2 separate regions of the Homo sapiens genome follow, and region 2 is linked to region 1. The links are contacts of gene promoters, found by promoter capture Hi-C in human tissues and cell types (Jung and others, 2019). All regions are on one chromosome and are shown on one strand. The core of a region is centred on a gene start or on the middle of the fragment in contact, and the rest is flanking DNA. Distances in the headings are between cores, read along the strand shown.

What was found. Contacts are between HindIII fragments. The study calls those that stand out against the background at their distance.
Region 2: a contact is called between a fragment that was not itself captured here and the fragment with the promoter of OR13C2 in region 1, in 1 of the 25 tissues and cell types used here (hippocampus).

The regions. Positions count from the first base shown.
Region 1 is chr9:104,603,662-104,607,839 of GRCh38, forward strand. OR13C2 (olfactory receptor family 13 subfamily C member 2) reads right to left here and starts at 1,966. Exons shown (of 1, transcript NM_001004481.1): 1 at 1,010-1,966. The coding sequence starts at 1,966. The coding sequence ends at 1,010. The region is part of intron 3 of LOC107987105 (a long non-coding RNA gene); the gene reads right to left. The HindIII fragment of the contact is 6,361 bases long and covers 222-4,178 here.
Region 2 is chr9:104,552,243-104,556,634 of GRCh38, forward strand. LOC107987105 (a long non-coding RNA gene) reads right to left here. Exons shown (of 5, transcript XR_007061705.1): 4 at 4,070-4,276. Among named protein-coding and RNA genes, the nearest start is that of OR13C8, 15 kb to the right of the region's middle. The HindIII fragment of the contact is 5,813 bases long and covers 1-4,254 here.

The sequences.
Region 1 (4,178 bases), core at 716-3,215:
TCATCTTGGGCTGTAAATTTAAAATGTCCTTCAATAGAGAAAAAAGTTGACGTAAAAACCAAGGAAAAGCAAGGTAGTATCTGACTTTCCCCAATCCTCTTCTTCCTCAAATCAAACTAGTTAGTAACAGAGACAAGACATCAATAGTATTCTTACTAAAAATTAAGAGCTTGGACATTCTTCTAAGATTTGGAAAAATATTGGAATTCCCTCGGGACAGCAAAGAAATCTGGCATCTTCTAAATGGGCATTGATATGACACTCCATTCAGCCCAAAAGTAGTCCACATTATTATCTAGACCAGTAGACTGATTTTCAAACCCATTTTTAATTTTGCAAAATGTTCTTTAGAGCCAACATGTAAGTTAAAGCAAAGAAAGACCATAAAGCAGGATATCCTGACTGATTGCATAGGCCCTGCTTTTAAACTCTATTTATCTACTGCCCTTTGATAGTCCCAGATACTCAACTTCACACACACACAAAATTTAATACAGAAAAAGAAACTGGTATTTAGTGGCTTAACAGGATCTGGAGATTAACGTGAAACTATAACACAAGGCTTGTCCCTGGAAAATGTGAGTACACTATGTTGGGGTTTTTCTGTTTTGCTTTTTCTACAACAGAGGGCTTTATTTATTTTGAAAGATTCTATGAAATGTTGCCTATGAAATAACATTATGGAAAAAAGTGAACATAAAAAGGCACATCACACCCAATTCCAATGCAGAAAAAAAAACCCATAATATGAAAGTTACTGTTCAAAATGTTGAAACGGGGCCATTTCCCACTAGTAGAGTAATAGGTAACCCCTCTTTCTTCTTCATCCTACTGCCCTGTATCTTGCAAATTCTCTAGAGTGGACATGCAATAATTTTGAAATGCTGTATCTCATTATTTTAACATAATATATGAAAATGCATAAAAATAGTAAAAGTACCCAAAATTCTAACATAATTCTGAAGTTTCAACAATATCAAGTGTGTTCATATTCCAGTACATTTTGCACTCACTTGCTAAAGAACCTTCTGTTCAGTAGGTGTTTTACTGCCTCTTTCACATCCTTGTTTCTAAGACTGTAGATTAAAGGATTCATCATGGGAGTCATCACCCCATAGAACATGGATATAATTTTGTCGGTAGCATCCAAGTCATCCGAATTAAGTGTCTCTTTAGACTTGGGCTTCATGTACATGAAGAGGATGGTCCCATAGAATATTATGACCACAGTCAGATGGGCTGAACAGGTAGAGGAAGCTTTGCTTCTCCCCTCGGAAGAGCTAATTTTGAAGATGCTCACAATGATTAACGTGTAAGAGACAATGATTAATAACAAAGGTGTCAATATGAACAATGTTGTGGCCACAAGCATGATGAACTCATTGTCTGAGATGTCAGCACAGGCCAGTTTCATGACAGCCAGAATTTCACAGGTGAAATGATTGATGATGTTATTCCTGCAGAAAGGCAATTGTACCACAAACACTGATTGTACTGCAGAATTGACAGCTCCTATGATCCAGGACCCAGCTGCCATGGGTACATAGGCATCCTTACTCATGATGATGGGATATCTCAGAGGGTTGCAGATAGCCACATAGCGGTCAAAGGCCATCATGCCCAGAAGCACACACTCTGTTGTCCCCATGGCCAAGCCGAGGAACATCTGCACTGCACAGCCAGAAAGGGAAATGGTCTTTCTTTCTGAAAGGAAGCTCACTAGCGTGGAGGGAATAGAGGTGGTGGTGTAGCAGATGTCCAAGAAGGAGAGGTTCCCCAGAAAGAAGTACATAGGGGTGTGAAGGTGAGGGTCCAAGATGCTGATTAAAATGAGAGTACCATTCCCCAGAAGGATGACCACATACATTATGAAGATGAGCACAAAAAAGAGTAACTCAAGTCTTGGGTGACCAGAAAGTCCCTTCAGAAAAAATTCCACCAGAATGGTGTGGTTTTCCCATTCCATTTTACTCTCTATTTAACCTGTAAGAGAGAGCATGTTAAGACAAATATTTATCTTACTCTGATTACTTTCAAGCATGTATCAATGAATATGTATCATAATCCCCAGGAAAAAGAAAAATAAAAAAGGAAAAGACCAAAGAAAGAAGAGAGAGCATAAAGAAAAGTGGACAGAAAAGAGGGAATTATGAATGGAGAGAGGGAAGGGAATGAATGAATGAGTGAATGGAGAGAGGGAAGGGAAGATAAAACTAACATGTTTCGTGCTACAGCCATTTAATTCATTTAATATCATCACAGTTCTAGGAGAGGCGTATTAGTATCCATATTTTACAGATGAATAAATCAAAGCAGATATGTTAAGTAAACTTGACCAAAGGTAAATACTATATAGCAGAGCTAAGATTCAAACCTAAATCTTCCTGTTGAAGTCTGAACTTTTTGTCATATTTGTCATCACATACATAAACTGTAGGTTATAATAGAAATGAGCATTGTATTACATATACTTGAACACTAAACTATTTTTATTGGCTATAAATCACCACACAATAGATCGATGCTCTTGTCACTCCTTGAAATTATACTATGTTACGTATGTTGTCTCTCTTTCCCAGTAGAATGTAAACTTCATTAGGGCTGGTACTTATTCTTGCTTATTTCCACAGCCCCTGTAGCTAGAATAGAACAGACACAGATGCAAATGTTCAAAAACATTTCTTGGATGAATGAACAAAATCAAAGGCAAAATAATTGCTACATTTCTTACTGTGTGCCAATCCTCTATTAATTGTTTTCTTTGTGCATTACATAATGGAGTCTGAATAGCAAGCCTATGAGGTAATTACTGTTACTATTAGTATCACCAAGCCTATTGTGTAGAGGGGAAAATAAGGCACAGAAAAGTTAAGTAATTTGCTTAAGGTCAATTTCATAAAGACAAATAAATGAAAGAGCAAGGACTTAAACCCAAGCAGTATGGCTTCAGAATTCGAGCTCTAATACTCATTTGGCAAAGAGAATTTGGCTCACAGACTAGAATACCTTGTATTCTAATTAACAATACTAATATTTCAAAAGAAATATCAGATAAAAACTGTGATCAGATAAAAAAAAGAAGATTTCAATATGGTAATTTGATAGCAGTTGATTTTATACTTTATATTTTGCTAGAAAAGTACTCATTTCTATAACAAATATTTTGTCACAGAGTTGCATTTGATCATTATAATTCTTGTGTCCTCCCTTACATGAAAAGTTCTCATTTTCATTATGATGCCTGTTTGACTTTTTTTTTTCCTTTATTCGACTCACAAGGGGTTTTCCTATATTACAGGTCTTTAAAAAAAAAAAAAAACAGCTTTAGGTTAGATTTATCCTCGTGACTTTTTGAGTTTCATTAAGTTTCTGTCTTCATAAGTTTCTTGTTTATTCGGATCTATTTTTCTAAGTTTCTGATTTCTAATTTCTATGTTCTCTATTCTAATACTATTTATCTAATTTCTTGAAATAAGAAGAAAAATTCTTATTTCCTCCTCCTTACTCCTCTATTTCTTGCTCAAATAAAGGCACTTAGAACAGTTTTTGTTCTATTATAGACTTAGTTTTCTATGAGAATTTTTTTTACTGGTTTCTAGATAATTTTTTTGTTTTTCTCTTTAGTTCCTCTTAAATCCAAGCATCTTTCTTCATTATTTAGTGATTAGGCATTTTCATTCTATTTTTATTATTTATTTCCCATTTTATTTAATTAATTTATATATTTTTATTTTTATTTTTTTCTGCGACAAAGTCTCGCTCTGTCATTCAGGCTGGAGTGCAGTGGCGCCATCTTGGCTCACTGTAGCCTCTACCTCCCTGGTTCAAGTGATTCTCCTGTCTCAGCCTTCTGAGTAGCTGGGACTACAGGCATGCACCACCACGCCTGGCTAATTTTTGTGTTTTTGGTACAGACAGGGTTTCGCCATGTTGCCCTTGCTGATCTTGCACTCCTGACCTCAAGTGATCCACCTCAGCCTCCCAAAGTTCTGGGATCAGAAGTGTGAGCCACCACGCCCGGCCCCATTTTATTTTAATAGAAAACATGACCTATAATTCTCTAGTTATGGACTTTTGTGCAGCCAATTGCATGATGTATGTTGTAAATGTTAACAAAAAAATGTGATTTCTCTTTGGGAAGATACATAGTTTTAAATACATGCACAAAACAGGTATAC
Region 2 (4,392 bases), core at 98-2,597, 52 kb before region 1:
ATGTACCAAAAATTGTTATGCTTATCAGCATAAAGAAATTGGAAACTAAAAGCAGTTATGGACTATGCATTAATTTCCTAGGGCTGCCATGACAAAGTACCACAAACTCGATTACTTAAAACACCAGCAATGTATTATCTACAGTTCTGGAAGCTCAAGTCCAACTCAGGGTGTTAGCAGGGTCAAGATTCCCTGAAATTGGTAGGGGGAAATCTTCCCTTGCCTCTTCTTAACTTTGGGTGATTTGTCAGGAATCCTTGGCATTCCTTGGCTTGCAACCATGGTGCTTCAGTCTCTGCCTCCATTGTCACATGGCATTTTCCCCCATGTGTCTTGTGTCTCTTTGTCTCTGCTGTTCTTACAAGGACACTAGTCATATTGTATCAATAATTCACCTTGCTCCAGTATGATCTCATCTTAACTAATTACAACTGCAATGACCCTATTTCCAAATAAGGTCACCTTCTGAGGATTCTGACGTTAGGACTTCAACACATCTTTTGGAAGGACACAATTCAACCCAAAATATAATATTTACTGAAAGGATCCAGGAAGACTTAAAGTTAGCAAGTGGATTATACTGGCCATTACCCTTAGTTCCAGGTGGATAAAAATGACTCTTGAATAAGAGAGACACTCGTTCAGGATTTGGATTTGCATACTTAGAAAATAAAGCAAATACCACTACCACTATTAAAGGCTTATAACAAGCTTATACTAATTTGAATGTTCAATACCTAATTAAGGGATCTATTTTACTCCAAGTTAAATATAACAAGTTATGAAGCATCATATACAATAGACTCATCATATACATCGATGTACAAAGTGGACTGATTGAAAACCTAAATCTGCTTATTAAATGTAGGGAGGGTGACAGGAGACTGGTAGGATAACTTTCACAACTGAATGAATTTGTGTCAAAATATATGTATGTTAAAGAAAAGAGGGATTGATGAATACATTATTGAGATATATTTATAAAGACATGGAAAAGTGACAGGAAAGATATAAGCACTTACAGAAACTTCCCTATTTCTAATTTTTTTCTTTGCTTGATAATATTGGTGAAACACAGATAGCATTTTTGAGTTTTGGAGGAAGGATCAGTTGCTGAACATGATGCTGTGACAGTATCTCTAAATATAACTGTCCATCATTCCTTCAGAATGAGTCATTCCTTCTTTTCATTTTTTAAAATGTGGGATTCGTGGGCTTTGTCTCTTTCCTGCTCAGTGGATGAGGCAGGCCTATCTGTTTGTGTTTGTCTAACCCTACTCCATACAATGATGAACAGATGAAGGGGAAAATCATTGGGTAGACTTTTGTTGCTGCCAGTTTTTTGGATCAGTCATCTTAATGCACTTAACAACCTAACCTCAAGGAGGATAATCTGGGTAAAAATTAATAAAAATAAAAGAAGGGTAAGTATTTACTGATATAGAAGAAAGCAAAGAAAAAAACCAATTACACAAAAAGAAAAGGCTAACATGAACTGGTTATCTCAGGAGATGTTGATAGCAAGAGACTATTATCTCTTGGATGTATTTTTAAATGCCATCCACAAAAACAAAGCTATTTTCCTGCAGAAACCTTCTTTCTTTAAAACCTTTGTTTAAAACATGTTCAAAGTGTCATGTGCTCTAATGGTGGAGGACGGTAAGCAAAGTAACAAATAATTGACAAATTGAAACCATTGTTAGGTCAGGGTTTGCTGAGGAAGCCTATGGGAATCTCTTTAGCTTCCTCAAACTAAATTGTATTTGTAGGTTACTAACTCCTGTTATGATAGTGTCGTTGGGAAATCAACATTTGGGGTTCAAAATGTGTACTCAGACTATTGACAGATTGAAACCATTGTTACGTCAGGGTAACCAGCAATAAGTCATTAATGCAAATAACATGTTTGATATAATTACAAAAGGATAAATTTAGCAAGAGAATAGAATAATTCTAAATAAATCTATATATACCCTAAACTGGAGTACCCAATACAAATAAAATTAGGTTGGTGCAAAAATAATTGTGGTTTTGATAAAATTCAGCATCCCTTCATAATAAAAACTCTCAACAAACTAGGCATAGAAGGAACATATCTCAGCATAACAAAACGTTATGCTGAGGCCATATATGACAAACCCACAGAAAACATAATCCAGAATGGGGACAAGCTGAAAGCCTCTCCTCCAAGAATTGGAACTAGATAAGAATACCCACTTTCACCACTCCTATTCAACATAGTACTGGATGTCCAACCCAGAGCAATTAAGCAAATATATAAATAAATTAGAAAATAAGTAAATTAGAAAAGAGGAAGTCAAATAGTCCTTATTTGCAGATGACATGTTCTTATATTTAGAAAAATCAAAAGACTCCACCAAAAACTCTTAGATCTGATAAATAAATTCAGTAAAGTTATAGGATACAAAATCAATATACAAAAATCAGTAACATTTCTAGAAACCATAAACAAAGTAGCTGAAAAGGAAATCAATAAGTAAATCCCATTTATAATAGCTAAAAGAAAATAAAATACTTAGAAATAAGTGTAACCAAGGAGGTAAAAGATTTCTACAAGGAAAACCTCAAAACACTGGTGAACGAAATTGAGGAGGATGGAAATGGAAAGACATCCACACTCATGAATTAAAAGAATTAATACCATTAAAATGACCATACTATCCAAAGCACCTATAGATTCAATGAAATTCCTATTGAAATGCCAATGTCATTTTTCACAGAAACAGAAAAAGAAATTCTAAAATTCATATGGAACCAAAAAAGGGCCCAAATAGCCAAAGCAATCCTGAGCAGAAAGAACAAAGCTGGAGACTTCACACTACCTGACTTCAAAATATATTCCAAGGCTATAACAAACAAAATATCATGGTGCTAGTATTAAAATAGACATATAGACTGACAGAAAAGAATAGAGAATCAGAAATAAATCCACATATTTACAGCCAACTAATTTTTAACAAAGGCATCAAAAATCTATATTGGGAAAGAGACACCCTCTTTAATAAATAGTGCTGGGAAAACTGAATATCCATATGCAGAAAAATAAAACTAGACCGCTAAGTCTCACCACATAAAAAAATCAACTTAAAATGGATTAAATACTTAAATGTAAAACCCAAAACTATAAAATTATTAGAACTAAACATGGGGGAAACACTCCATGACATTGATCTAAGCAATGACTTCATGGTTAAACCCCAAAAGCACTAGTAACAAAAATACAAAATAGACAAATGGGGCTAGGTTAAATAAAAAGTTTCTGCACAGCAAAGGAAACAATCAAGAGTGAAGAGACAGCCCACAGAATGACAGAAAATATTTGCAAACTATTTATCCAACAAAGGACTAACATCCAGAATACACAAGGAATTCAATAGCAAAAACAGTCCCATTAAAAAGTAGGCAAAGAATCTGAATAGATGTTTTTCAAAAGAAGACATATAAATGGCCAAGAAGTATGTAAAATATGCTCAACATCACTAATCATCAGGGAATGCAAGTCAAAACCACAATGAGATATTAGCTTACCCAGCTAGAATGGTTATTATCAAAAGACCCCCCACTCCTTCCCCCCAAAAAAAGCAGATGCTGAGGAGGATGCAGAGAAAAGAGAACTCTTATACACTTTTGGCGGGAATGTAAATTAGTATAGCCATTATGGAAAACAGTATAAAGTTTTCTCAGTAAAACTAAAAATAGAACTACCACGTGATCCAGCAATCTTACAACTAGGTATTTATCCAAAGGAAAGGAAATCAGTATATTAAAAGGATACATGTACCCCCATGTTATTGCAGCACTATTTACAATAGCAATGATATGAAATCAACCTAAGTGTCCGTCAATAGATGAATGAACAAAAAAAAAATTGCTATATATACACAGTGCAATACTACTCGGCCATAGGGAAAAAAATAAAATTAAGTCACTTGCAGCAACATGGGGGAACTGCGGGTCATTATGTTAAGTAAATTAAGCCAGACACAGAGAGACAACTGTTGCAGGTTCTCACTCATATATGGGAGTTTTACAAAAAAGTTTTACTTACAGACAAAGAGAATAGAATGATGGATCAGGTGGGGGAAAATGGCAGATTGGAGGCAGGACTAACTTGCAGCTCCCACTCCAGTGGACAGAGCAGTGTGTGGAGACTCACATCGTGAACTTTTGCTCCAAGAACTACCACAGGAACATACCGGGAAAGCCAAGAGGATCCACAGACCCTTTGAAGGAGGCAGATTGCTGTTGCAGGCCCCTGGAAATAGCAAAAAAAAAAAAAAAAAAAACTGAGTGTCCAAAGTGTGAAACTGTGAAAGGGGAGGATCATCCACCCCCAAACACACACCCTCACTAGGGAACCTGAAGGTCCAT